3 separate regions of the Homo sapiens genome follow, and all the other regions are linked to region 2. Evidence: promoter capture Hi-C in 16 types of primary human blood cells and fetal thymus (Javierre and others, 2016). All regions are on one chromosome and are shown on one strand. Each heading gives the region's core, a stretch centred on a gene start or on the middle of the fragment in contact. The rest is flanking DNA. Distances are from core to core; before and after follow the strand shown.

Region 1 (4,493 bases), core at 1,397-3,896, 180 kb after region 2:
GAGGTCATTCACCTCTATAACTCAGCTGAGAAGCTTGTATTCAAGCAAATGAATACAGGCTCTGGGGATGTTATCGATGTTGGGATTTTTTATTTGTGATTGTCTCCTTCAAACAGTTCACTTATTAACCCTCAGGCGTCAGTTCTGTGTATTTCTTAATTTGTTCTTTATAGCCCCTCCACACTTTTCAACATTCATTTAATCATGTGTATCTAGTAAACTCCTCATATATTGGCAAAGTTAAGGAAATGAAAATTCAATGACAGACCTTTGCATCATTTCTATGGTTCTAATTACAAATTATTATTATTTACTTTTTAAACCTAGCTGTCATGCAGCGCAATTACCTACAAGGTGAGAATGAAAATCGCACAGGAACTCTGCAACAATTAGCAAAGCGCTTCTGTCAATATGTGGTAAAACAATCAGAACTAAAGGGCACTTTCAGTAAGTATTGTTTTTTTAACCTCTTCATCTCTCCAACCCCTGGAGCATTTCTCTGATGGCAACTGAAGGGAGTTTGAGATCTGCAGAAAACATTGAATGTGAAGAAAATGTAAGCCCAATTTAGAAAAAATACACCATTCCTGTGCTTGGTTTCTCCAGAAGGTCATAAATGCAGCCCCTGTGACACAAACTGGAGATATTATGGAGATAGCTGCTATGGGTTCTTCAGGCACAACTTAACATGGGAAGAGAGTAAGCAGTACTGCACTGACATGAATGCTACTCTCCTGAAGATTGACAACCGGAACATTGTGGTAAGAAGATTCTTATGTCAAATATTTTGGAGGCAAGGAAGAGAAACCTCAAATGTAACACTTGACCTTTTTTTGTTTTTTACATTTTTCTTAACATCTTTCAGTTTGTACTAATCTAAGACCCTTGTGAAACCTAGTAAGAATTACAGAACCCAGATATTCAATCCACTCATAATATTCTACAACACTGATAGAGTTGATCAGTCAAATTGACTTGTCCCTTCCTGACAGCTCAGGTACATAGTGGGTCACACATGAAGAGTCAGCCCAGTGATGTTCATATTTATTTGTGTCCTCTGTTGTTCTAACTTGCTGTGCTGTCCACTTACTGTTTCTGTGGACTCAGACGCATACGGAAGATATCCAGTTACATAAATTAGCTTTTCTTTCCACTCCAGCAAAATAAGATAGTTTTCTAAAATCTCAGCTCTATTATATAGAGATTAATTCGAGACATATATGCATATCCTTAATTTGTATTAGTCTAGGCAGATGCCAGGTTGAAGATTTATAACTAAAAGTAGTCATGCAACTTTTTCAGAAAAAGAAATTGTATAGTTGGATTTCAGGTAGAATTTATCTGTCAGTTCCTATTGGGAAGTATATAATATTGATATATTTTAAAGAAAATATTAGGATATAACAGAAAGGTTCCCGGTGGCTCAAGCTTTAAGAAATAAACAGTCACATGTGACTTTCACACAATATCTCCTGTGGAATGCCATTTTGAGTCTCACATATCTGTCAAGAAGCTCAAGTCATTTTTTATTTACCAAGAATGCATTATCACTTGTTATTCTGGGAGGTCTCAGAATATATAAGCATTTGGCCTTCACATAATTTTGTTACCCATAGATTGATTGATTCACTTATTCCTTCATTAATTCAGCAACTATGTGCTGAAACTATTCCAGAATTTGGACCTATGCAGTTAGTAAGACAGAAAGAAAAATGCTTAACCTCGACAAGAGTATATTCTAGTTAAAGCAACAGCCAAGAAACAAAGCAAATGATATAGTATATAGTTTAGTAGATAGTGATAATTGCTAATTAGAAGAAAGTAAATAGGGAAAGGTAGATGTACGTTATTTATAAATCCTTTTGAGAAAGACATCATAAATGCCTTTATCCAATTAACTACAACAAGTTAATACTTCCATATGTAAGATTTTATAGGCAAGCTGAGCAATAAAACCAAAGCAGGTAGGGCTTTAACTCTAAGGAATATACAGCTCATCAACAATGTATTTCTTTGTATTTCCTTTCTCTGTTTACATTTATTCCTTTGAATCATATTTGGTATTCTATTTGGGAGTATAATCCTCAACTGGTTGAAGATCTAAATACATGTTATAAACACAAAAGAAGATTAGAATATCAGCTATTTTGTGTACAATTTTACCTGTGTCCTATAAGTTTTTTTTAAGTTCTCAGACAAGTCAAATTGGTACAATTTCAAACATCAAATGTAATCCATTAATACTAATATAGACATGTAATCCAACATTTTTTGTCCAACGTCTTATCATGAAGCTTTGTCTATCATACCAAGAGCTGTGGAGGGATTCTGACCATTGTGTTTATTTATGTTTACAATAGGAGTACATCAAAGCCAGGACTCATTTAATTCGTTGGGTCGGATTATCTCGCCAGAAGTCGAATGAGGTCTGGAAGTGGGAGGATGGCTCGGTTATCTCAGAAAATATGTAAGTCACTGGACACTTAGAATAGGAGGGAGTACTGGAAACTCTTATTCTTGAGATTCCCTCTTCTCTCAGTCCAAGTCACTACTATGGGTTATAGAAGCAGCAGCTGGGTCACTTACCTGCTAATTCAAACAAGACAGCGCTGGTCATAAGACAATTCTTTCCCCTCTCTCCCATTACTTTGCTCTTTATCTAAGCCACAATCCACCTTTATCTCTGATATTATTCCCATTCATTTTTACATTCAACCTTACCATGGAACACTGTGTGCATGTATGTGTATGTGTGAGTGTGTGTGTGTGTGTGCGCGCATGCACATGTGTGTGTGTTTTTGTGTTTTGCTTGTTCTGATTATCTTCACATATTTTTAAAACAAAATTTCATATCATTATTTTACAGTTGAAAGTTGTTATCTTGAGAGTCCTTTTGAGTTTTCAATATTGTTTTGCCTATTCCTCTATTCTGGGAGTCTCCAAGAATTCGATACATTGTATTTCACAAGATAATTCCAATGTCCATTAACGAAGCTTTGTCCTTCTACAAACAATCCAGGCAAAGGGACTGATTGCATTGAGTGGAGTTGCTTCCTATATGGCTTTCCAATCTGCAGTCTCAACATCTTTTGTTCATCCTGTATATCAAAACTGCAGTCTCTCTTCAATTAAAATTTAAACTGATAACCAAAACTTATATAATCTGATTATTACTCAAATTATGAATTAAATTTTTAAACAAATATTTATTAAGTATTTACTATAGATAGGATCTTAGGATACTACAACTACAAGCAAGCCTCTTCACAGACCTTGGGCTTTATCTCCTATCTCCTATTGCTTGCTGCCTCATTTACAATATTGCAGGCAACTTAGTGTTCTTTACATTCTTCCAACAAATCAAACTCGTTTTGTTACCTTAAGGCTTTTGTCTTGCTATTTTCTTCTAGAATGCTCTGCCTCCACAACTCCATGACCATCTCTCCACTGAGACTCAAGTCTCTATTTAAACATCACTTCTTCAGTGAACCTAACTCTACCCAAACTAAATTAGCCTCCCTTAAACCCATATCCATACAGTCCACCACTGTTTTGTTTCTTTGTAACTCTTACCACTGTCTCAATTTTTCTTGTCTATTTTTTGTGGGCTTCTTACCGGTATCGCCCCACTTAAATGAAAGTTCCCCAACAAGAAAGACATTAGCTTTCTTGTCTTTCTTTATCAGTGTATCCTCAGCACATAGAACAACTTTGTCACATAGTTCTGCAGGTATTCTCCAAATAAACCAATAAGTATATATTCCTTGTCATCTCATTATAAGCAGTTTAGAAAGAAAGAAATATAACTTAACAGACAATTACAATACAGCCTGCTGTGTTAGATGATTTATCTTGCAACATAAATCCTGATTTCAAAACTACTGAATCAACTCACTTTTCCATGAGCGTATTCCCATCTAGTGCAGCTACTTGTCCTGTAGGGCTCTTCCATCTCCTGTCAGTTCATCTGAGTCCTGACCTTCCATCAATACCGAACTAAAGTCTGATCTTGTAGATAATGCGTTTTCCCATTATTTTGGAGCCATCTCCATCACTTCTTCAGGGCTCCTATTGTACCTACTGTTCCCTTGCTCCTAATTTTATGCTAAATGAAATTGATATTGGGCTTTTTAAATATGCATATCTTGTACTGCCAAGCAGGGTGGAACTTTCTCAACAATGAGAATCGTTTTTTTTTTTGTTTTTTTTTCCTATTTTCCTCAGTCTCTATTTGGTGCATCAAACTACTATACGCAGAGTCTGATTACTGATTGTTTGCTCAGTTTTCAAAGGAATTTATTCTAACTTTCCCTTCACAGGTTTGAGTTTTTGGAAGATGGAAAAGGAAATATGAATTGTGCTTATTTTCATAATGGGAAAATGCACCCTACCTTCTGTGAGAACAAACATTATTTAATGTGTGAGAGGAAGGCTGGCATGACCAAGGTGGACCAACTACCTTAATGCAAAGAGGTGGACAGGATAACACAGAT
Region 2 (4,000 bases), core at 841-3,340:
CAAAAACCCATTCAAGGCTGGGTGCAGTGGCTCACACCTGCAATCCCACCACTTTGGGAGGCCGAGGTGGGTGGATCACTTGAGGTCAGGAGTTCGAGATCAGCCTGACCAACATGGTGAAACCCCATCTCTACTAAAAAAATACAAAATTAGCCAGGCGTGGTGGTGCATGCCTGCAATCCCTGCTACTTGGGAGGCTGAGGCAAGAGAATCGCTTGAACCCAGGAGGCGGAGGTTGCAGTCAGCCAAGATCGTGCCACTGCACTCCAGCCTGGGTAACAAGGGCAAAACTCCGTTTAAAAACAACAACAACAACAACAACAAACCATTTAAGTAAACTCAATTCTAGAAGTTGCTTCTGTCTTCTAATAACCTGAGTGATCTGATATTTCAGGAAAGCAACCACAAAGGCCCTAGAAAAGAAACAGATTTGTAACTATTGGGAGTTTATGGCGGGTAGTGAAGGGGTAAGGAGACACACATTCTCAAGACCTATCAGTTGGAAAGGATCTGTAAAAGGATTAATGGCCAGCCTTTGCAGGTAACATTTGAGAAACCCGTGTTTGTGTTTTCATTGGAAAGAAATGGCCACTAACGATGAAAAAGCGTGTGTTTCCTCTACGCAACCATGGTACTTTCTTTCACTTTCTTCACTAAAGGTAAGAGAAGCCTAAAGTGCTCAGCAGAGAAAATGCTACTTTTCAGGCTTGTTGCAAAGAGAAAAGAAAGGAAAAATGAAGGGAAGACAAGGCAAAGGGAGTGAAGAGGAAGCAAAAAGAAAATATAAGAAAAAATGGATTTTCAGATACCACTTTAACTGTTCTATTAGCAAAAAAAAAAAAAAAACAAACCATACAGCCCACTCTGTACGGGGGCCATACGGGAATCTGAGACTATCCAGTTTTCTTCATTTGCTCTCCTTCTTGCTAGATGGCATAGCTCTATAAACTTCCCTGTGACAATTGTTTAGAATCCCTCAGTCCAGTGACCCTTTTCTCCACTAATGGATTACTCAGAGACTTCTGATTCATTGTGGGGCCCAAAATATTTTAAAAGAGCCCTGCCTCTCTTATTTCTAGACTAGAGGCACCTAAACTGCTAGAACAGGATTAGAAATTCCTGGATGGGAAATTCCGTTTAGGGGAATTACACACCTAGTTTTCATAATTTGTTTGGAATTTTGAGGGATGGGTGATAAGATGCTAAAAGAGATAAAATACTTCAGCGGCACTTCTAAAGTGCCACGGCAATCCTGCTCGTTTCCATGCTCACTCTAATTTCTGTCCCCCTTTTCATTGTCATTGCCATCAGTCACACATGCATCTATGCAATCTCGTAATACTAAGGAAACTTTGTAGTTTATTCATTTCCCTATGACCCCCTGGGTTCTGTATATGTCTCCCCACCCCGCAGTTCATTTCCTTTCAGACTCTTCTGAGAGTTGATTAATCTGGGGAAAAATACTCTTTCTGCCTTTTCACCACTGAACTCACCAGGATGAAATACAGCAGGGCTGAGGCCGCCACGACATGAACTCGGACTCCCATCGGGCTGAATTCCTGCTTCTTCAGAATCTTGCACTGGGCATCCGTTGCCTCCTTTCAATGCTCTGTGCCATATTTTACTTCTTGACCTAGAATTCTTAAGAAGAGAAACTTTTCTCAGGAATTTATCAGCTTTTCTCTCTCTCGTTCTCTCTGTCTCCTCCTACTCGCTCTGGCTGTTATTTTCTATGGCTTTTCCCTCTTCTTTCCTGTTTTTCTTCTTTATTCTTATTACTATTTCTATGGCCTCCACATTTACTTCCTTTTGCCTTCTTTCTTTCCGTTACACTATTAATTCTTTCTACATCTTGAAGTTTCTTTCTCCTACTGCTCCCAAAAAGGAGACATTCAAAGAGGACATATGTGTCCTCTGAATGAAGTATTTTTCTAGACAGCGATGAAAAACTTGGCTTTGAGGATGGTCAAAGGCAGATTGCTGGTGACCAAATATATTCCTTTCTTCATCAGAAAACTGGTAATATTCTTGATCCTTCACCAGAGTACTCCAGCGTGACTGTTGCAGGGTGAAAGTCACCCTGCTAATCTCCTTTCTTCTCTCTCCGTGTGACTAACAACCCCTTCTTGCTCTTTGAAACCCTCCCCTTCACTATGTTGATAATCAACTCTCCTGGTTCTGGGTCATTTATATCCCTAAGCATTGGGGTAAGACTGAGAGGTTGCCAAGTGAACAGGAAAGCCATCTCATCTTTGGAGAAAACAGACTTGAAGATGAGAAATCAAGTCGGAAGATTAGAATTTTCAGGTGTTATCAGTGACATCTTCCTCCTCCCTGACTTCACTTCCCATTGAAATAGATAACTGAGAAAGACATTTTTTTAAAACCAAATTTTAAAAAAGCAAATGTATAGGTTTCTTTCTTTCTTGCCTTTTCTTTGTTCCTTCTTTCTCTCTCTTTCTCTCTCTCTCTCTCTCTTTGGTTAAGGAGTGATGTGATTGAGAAATAAGTCTTGTCACTCAGGAAAATAAAACCTAAGGTTAGAGTAAAAACAAGCACACATGCAAAAGCATAGAATACTTTTTTTTTTTTTTTTTTTGAGACGGAGTCTTGCTCTGTCACCCAGGCTGGAGTGCAGTGGCGCAATCTCGGCTCACTGCAAACTCTGCCTCCTGGGTTCATGCCATTCTCCTGCCTCAGCCTCCCGAGTAGCTGGGAATACTGGCGCCCACCACCACGCCCGGCTAAGTTTTTTTGTATTTTTAGTAGAGACGAGACGGGGTTTCACCATGTTAACCAGAATGGTCTCGATCTCCTGACCTCATGATCCGCCCGACTCGGCCTCCCAAAGTGCTGGGATTACAGGCGTGAGCCACCGTGCCTGGCCTAGAATACTTACAATGAAACAAAGCTATAGACACAAATGTGGCCGGGTGCCATGGCTCATGCCTGTAATCCCAGCACTTTGGGAGGCCAAGGCGGGCTGATAACTTCGGCCAGGAGTTTGAGACCAGCCTGGAGAACATGATGAAACCCTTTCTCTACGAAACATACAAAAATTAGCTGTGTGTCATGGCAGGCACCTGTAATCCCAACTACTTGGGAGGCTGAAGCAGGAGGGCCACTTGAACCCGGAAGGCAGAAGTTGCAGTGAGCCGAGATCACACCACTGCACTCCAGCCTGGGTGATAGAGCGAGAATCTGCCTCAAAAAAGCAAAATATTAAAAGAAACAAAAGAATGCTGTATGAATGATTTATACTTAAGTAGGTGATCTTTTACTTAATACCAAATGTTTAATAAAAAAATTATTATTATTATTATTATTATTATTATTATTATTATTATTATTATTTGAGACAGAGTCTCTCTGTCACCAGGCTGGAGGGCAGTGGTGCAATCTCGGCTCACTGCAACCTCTGCCTCCTGGGTTCAAGCAATTCTCCTGCCTCAGCCTCCTGAGTAGCTGGGATTATAGACACCTGCCACGACACCCAGCTAACTTTTCTATTTTCAGTAGAGACAAGGTTTTACCATATTGGCCAGGCTGGGATAAGAAAAGTAGAAGTTAGTTTACAGTGATATATCTATCTCATAAGAATTGAATAAAACCTCCTTTCAGGACCTTTCTAGCTCAGTAAATCTAATTATGCTGAGTGATTGTGGAAGGGAGACTCTTGGGTGAGCTGATCATACTCTAAGGGTCCTCACACATAGCTTGATGATGGGATATGAGAATGCAGGATATAAACTGGTTTTGTTCTCAGCTAAGGAAAACAAATAATGAGAAAATGGCCTGGTACCATACTGGTGATTTAAAATCTGTCAGTTTCAAGACGAAATGAGCACTGACAGTCTTTTATTTTTTATTTTTTTAAATTAGGCAACTGGGGTTAGGATGAAGGGTGATTTCCAGATTTCAGTAGAAGACTTGGCAAGGTGGAAGGTATTTTATAGGACAAGGAGAGCAGGGCTTTAGGTGGCCTTCCACTAAATTATTA
Region 3 (4,560 bases), core at 733-3,232, 160 kb after region 2:
TACTCCTGGAAACCCTCAGTCTAGTAGCAACACCTCAGATTAATATTAATCAGTTCATACCCAATATTGCTCTTGTCACAAAAAAGTAACTGTCACTTTTTTTGTTTGTGTATTACTCTGCATGTGCTTTTTGTCATTATTATTAGTGTGAAACCAAACTAATTGACTTGATATGATTAATAATGGTGATTAGAGAATGGGGGATTAGTGTTTGAGTAGAAATAGCCATGACAAAACATTGGGAAATGGATGAAGATAAAGTGTATCCAGGGAGAAAATAATAGACCTACCATTGTTTGTGATTTAAGGAACTGCTGAGTCACAGCTGAAGCATGGCATCTTTGACAGAAGATGAGTGATTATTATTCAGTTTAAGAAAACGTTGACAACATGCTTTAAAGAGTGAAACAGGAGGGAGGGGGGTGGATAATGATTTGTTGGGGGAGGAAGGTAGATAAAAAGCCATTATGAATACAAATATTCTGTTAGATAGAAGAAGTAAGACCTAGTGTTTCATAGATTATTAGGGTGAATACAATTAACAATAATCTACTGTACATTTCACAATAATGAGAAAATAATAATTTGAATGCTCCTAGCATAAAGAAAAGATAAATATTTAAAGTGATCGATATCCCAATTCCACTTATTTGATCTTTACACACTATCTGAATGTATCAAATTATCACATATACCCCAAAACATATACATCTCTTATGTATCAATAAAAAGTTTAAAAATCCATTAAGATGCCAAAGATCTTAAATTTTATCTAATAGAAAAATACTATTATATTTAAAATATTAATACAGTTGTTTCATTTAAATGTAGTTATGATGAGAGGTGTTCCTCAAAATTTTTTGTTTTATAGTCTGTGAAAGAATTTAGCAAACCTAATATCCCCTTACACATTTTTGTTGACGTCTATTTTTTCATAACTTTAAATAGTTAAAAAAATTGAAATTTTCCAAGTGTTATATATTCTATTTGTCCTTTAAATAGTTTCATCCAAACCCTGAAGTGGAAGGTTTAGTTCATTTTAATTCATAAAAGACACTTGCCGTATATTGTAATTGGCAAGTCCTCAACATGACACTAATTGTTGAACTAATCAGTCAATTCAGTCTTACTTTTTGTTAGAAAATGGTTGACAGTTATTTAGTATAAATAAATGTGTTGATATGTGTTCTTATGACCAGCAGCACCCTTTTGGATTGTAGGTGCTGGAGAGTCAGAATAGCTGAGTGACTGAGTGCACAATCCCTAAAGTGCAATTTATGAGCTGAGTGACCTCAGGCAAGTTACTTAATCTCTCTATTATAATATTTCTACCTATAAAATGGGAATATAACTGCTTTCTTCAAGGGTTAGTATTTATAAAATACTTTGAATGTAGTATTAGGTGTGTGTGTGTGTTAAATAAACACATTTCTACCAAAAGATAAAATTCAGTGCCTTGCTATAAATTTGTCACAGAGATGAAATGAACTATACCTCCTTTCAATATTTGTTACTGGAGCTCTTTTCTCAGTATGTTGTACTCCTCTTTTTATGTCTGTATTTATAATTCTCACAATCATTATTAATTTTCCCAGGATTCCATGGAAAGCTTGTGTTTACCCTCAATAGTTAGAGACGTACAAGGATGGAGAGGGAACAGAGCCATCTTCCCAGAACCAACTTCTGCCAGAGGAGTCCCATGATAATCCCAGCCAAAAGAACGAAAACATGAGTAATGGCTGTGACATAAGAAAATCCTAAGAGAGAAAACAGAGAAAAAGTTTTACGTGAGCGCCACATTCCAGTTTGCAGAGTTAAGATAGATGAGGACATTCATTAAATTCATGTATTAATTCTAATTCAAGATGCACTGAATTTCCATCATGTGAATCAGATGTTTTATTTATTTCTCTCTCATTGTATGGATAATGTCTATAACTAGAGAATGAGACTCAATCCTACCTTTTCTTCCAAACTGTCTATCTTCACTAGGGTGGAGTTCTTGTCTATGCAGTCCTTTCTACTGTTAGCCCAGGTTTTCTCCTCATTTGTTGTAAAATAGTAGCAACTATTTTGGTACCATTGCCACATCTTAGGACATGGATTACATCTGTGGTCTGAAAAGGAAATTATACCCAATAATATAAACTGAAGACTCTAGAGTGACTGGAGAAGGCTTTGAAACAAAATCATGTAATTGAACAATAGGGACTGAGAGCCTGCACCCTGAAAGCATACTGCTTTAGAAGCCTCTGAAAAAAAAGTGACCCCTGGTTATGGGTTGGGGCAACAGGGATTCTCTTTTCATGGCTTAGTCTTCTGACCTCAGAATTACCAGCTATGCCTTTAAGCTTTCAGAGCAACATGATCACCTAGAAATAGTTAATAAAATGAGGGGTTGAAGTATCCAGATTGATATCATTCCAAGATACTTCCCAAATTTGCCTGTGGTTTCAAAAATATTAAATGAATTTGTATATTTCCTTGCTGTGTGTAAATTTAGTGCAACATCATTAAGGTTCACTGGATGACATAACTCTCTCAATACTCTTAGGTGGTACATGTGATCAACTTAGACCAGGATAACATATGCCATCTGACTGGTCAGCAGGACTAAGTCTGATTACCTGAAGTATGAATGATTAGCTCTTGGCACAGTTTGATGGCCATTTGTTCCTGCCTCTTCAGTACACTGGAGATCTGTGACTTGAGAAATTCCTCCTCCATGGACAAGTTGTTGGAGTTGCCCAGTTGCTGGGATAAGTTATCCTGCTGCTGTTGGATGGTTTTCTGAAGTTGACTCAATTTCTCTGAATCTGAGTTAATGTCATTAGATATCTGCAAAACTCCAAGACATGACAGGAGACAAGTTCATATATTCTTCTATTCTTATAACTGTAGATAATTCTCGTGACAGAAACATTTCTTAATTGTTCAAGATTTATTAGTAGCTCTTAGTATTTGAGGTATCATGAAAGAAACAAACCAGATGCCTTTCTATTCCAAATTATTTATAGTTCTTTATAATTTTATTTACATTTTTATTATTGCACTATATTAAAATAATGATTTAATAATGATATATTTCTGACATCACATCTAAGGAAGGGCCAGTCATTCTGCCACTCATTTTCATGAAATTGTTTTATTTTTGTTTTATTTTATTTGGAGATAGATGATGTAATTGTTGTTTTAATGAAAACAGCATTCTTTGGGACAATGGATATCTCAAACTCTGCAGATGACCTGAGATGCTTGTTTACCAAAAGAAAAGAAAAAGCAGATCTTAATGGCATATCAGACCATTTCTCGTCATGGGTCCATGAAATATGCCCTTTTCATAAGCATTTAAGGTGCTTCATCAGCACAACAAATTTAAGAACCACTGCACCAAAAGCACTAAATTTTAGAAAAGAAATGTCACCCTTCTATATCGAACCAATGGACGTACGTTATTGCATTTTCACTTAATTTTTAAATATACATTATTGTAGAAGATCGGCTGCTAATCCTCATACTGATTGGCTCCAGAATATCTGTTACTGCTGCTTGAACATCATATTCCTTTTCAAAAGAGCAAGGTACATCATTAGTCTCTTTTTATGTTGGCAAAGATATGTCCAAATCCTAATTAACCATTAAATCCTAAAAAATTATCCATTAAATCATTAAAAAGAAATGAATGTAGCAGAGGAGATGTTAGTATCATTCAGCAAATTAACTTTCTTGACTGTGAGTTCCCTGTAAGCGAATACCATGCCAATTCACTACTCTGTATACCATATACTTAACAACCCTATAAAGTTTGTATTCTCAGGATGTTTTTCTCATTACTCAAGAACTCCCTACCATGTTCATCCCCAACTTCCCGAGGATGGGTCAGAATCAATAGAATGTTCCTTTGTGGCTGTGGTGCTTGAGAGTGGAGCTTCCATTGTCATGTGGAGATGGTTCAACTCTCTTACTTGGTAAGGTGTATCAGGCCACTCTTCCTCTTTGTTTATATGTCTTTCTCATTCATAGAAATCAGGCTGCTGCTGCTACTTGGAAGATTTCTCTCCACTAGAGAAGTTTCATGTAAGCAGACTGAACCTAGTCTAGTGTTAAGTCTTTCAGGTAAATAAAAATAGCAAGCACTTCCTTCAATACATATTTCTTGACTTTATTTCTCAGCATTGGAATGATAAGTGAATGTGTGTCTAGGCAGAAAAGAGGCTCTTTATTCTAATGAATAACTGGAAACAAAGAGTCTTTGTCTAAGTCCAGTTTAGCTTATCAAGATAAAACAATGAATTTAGAACCAAATCCTGATAATGTCTTTTGCCGGTTTTTTGGGAAGATATGACGAATAGGAGAGATATGAGACAGCAGAAAAGTATCAGACGATTCAGGATGCTAGGACCCATCTACAATCCAAGCTGAAAGTACATGGTTTACAATATGTTTTCTAGTTGCCTTTGTTGGGTTTGATGCTGATATACTTACACATCATCCCCAATGTCACCAGCCCAATCAGCAACATCAGGCAAAGAGTTACCAGACCCAGAGCAGCATGACGCC

What was found. The method cuts DNA at HindIII sites, captures the fragments that hold promoters and counts their contacts. A CHiCAGO score of 5 or more calls a contact.
Region 1: a fragment that was not itself captured here is called in contact with the fragment with the promoter of TMEM52B in region 2 in 1 of 17 cell types (monocytes); the score reaches 6.8 in monocytes.
Region 3: a fragment that was not itself captured here is called in contact with the fragment with the promoter of TMEM52B in region 2 in 1 of 17 cell types (neutrophils); the score reaches 5.4 in neutrophils.

What each region holds. Positions count from the first base shown.
Region 1 is chr12:9,993,114-9,997,606 of GRCh38, reverse strand. It overlaps CLEC1B (C-type lectin domain family 1 member B), which reads left to right. Exons shown (of 6, transcript NM_016509.4): 3 at 328-447; 4 at 607-761; 5 at 2,361-2,467; 6 at 4,320-4,493. The coding sequence ends at 4,464. It also overlaps a transcript of CLEC12A not described here. Among named protein-coding and RNA genes, the nearest start is that of CLEC1B, 3.8 kb to the left of the region's middle. The HindIII fragment of the contact is 700 bases long and covers 2,297-2,996 here.
Region 2 is chr12:10,177,122-10,181,121 of GRCh38, reverse strand. TMEM52B (transmembrane protein 52B) reads right to left here and starts at 2,090. Exons shown (of 5, transcript NM_001384896.1): 1 at 1,494-2,090. The coding sequence starts at 1,547. RefSeq lists an enhancer at 533-1,732. The HindIII fragment of the contact is 29,503 bases long and covers 1-4,000 here.
Region 3 is chr12:10,012,809-10,017,368 of GRCh38, reverse strand. It overlaps CLEC12B (C-type lectin domain family 12 member B), which reads right to left. Exons shown (of 6, transcript NM_001129998.3): 2 at 4,486-4,560; 3 at 2,628-2,846; 4 at 1,963-2,117; 5 at 1,642-1,757. LOC102724020 (a long non-coding RNA gene) reads left to right here. Exons shown (of 4, transcript NR_169587.1): 3 at 1,221-1,296; 4 at 1,596-2,483. Among named protein-coding and RNA genes, the nearest start is that of CLEC12B, 4.5 kb to the right of the region's middle. The HindIII fragment of the contact is 742 bases long and covers 1,612-2,353 here.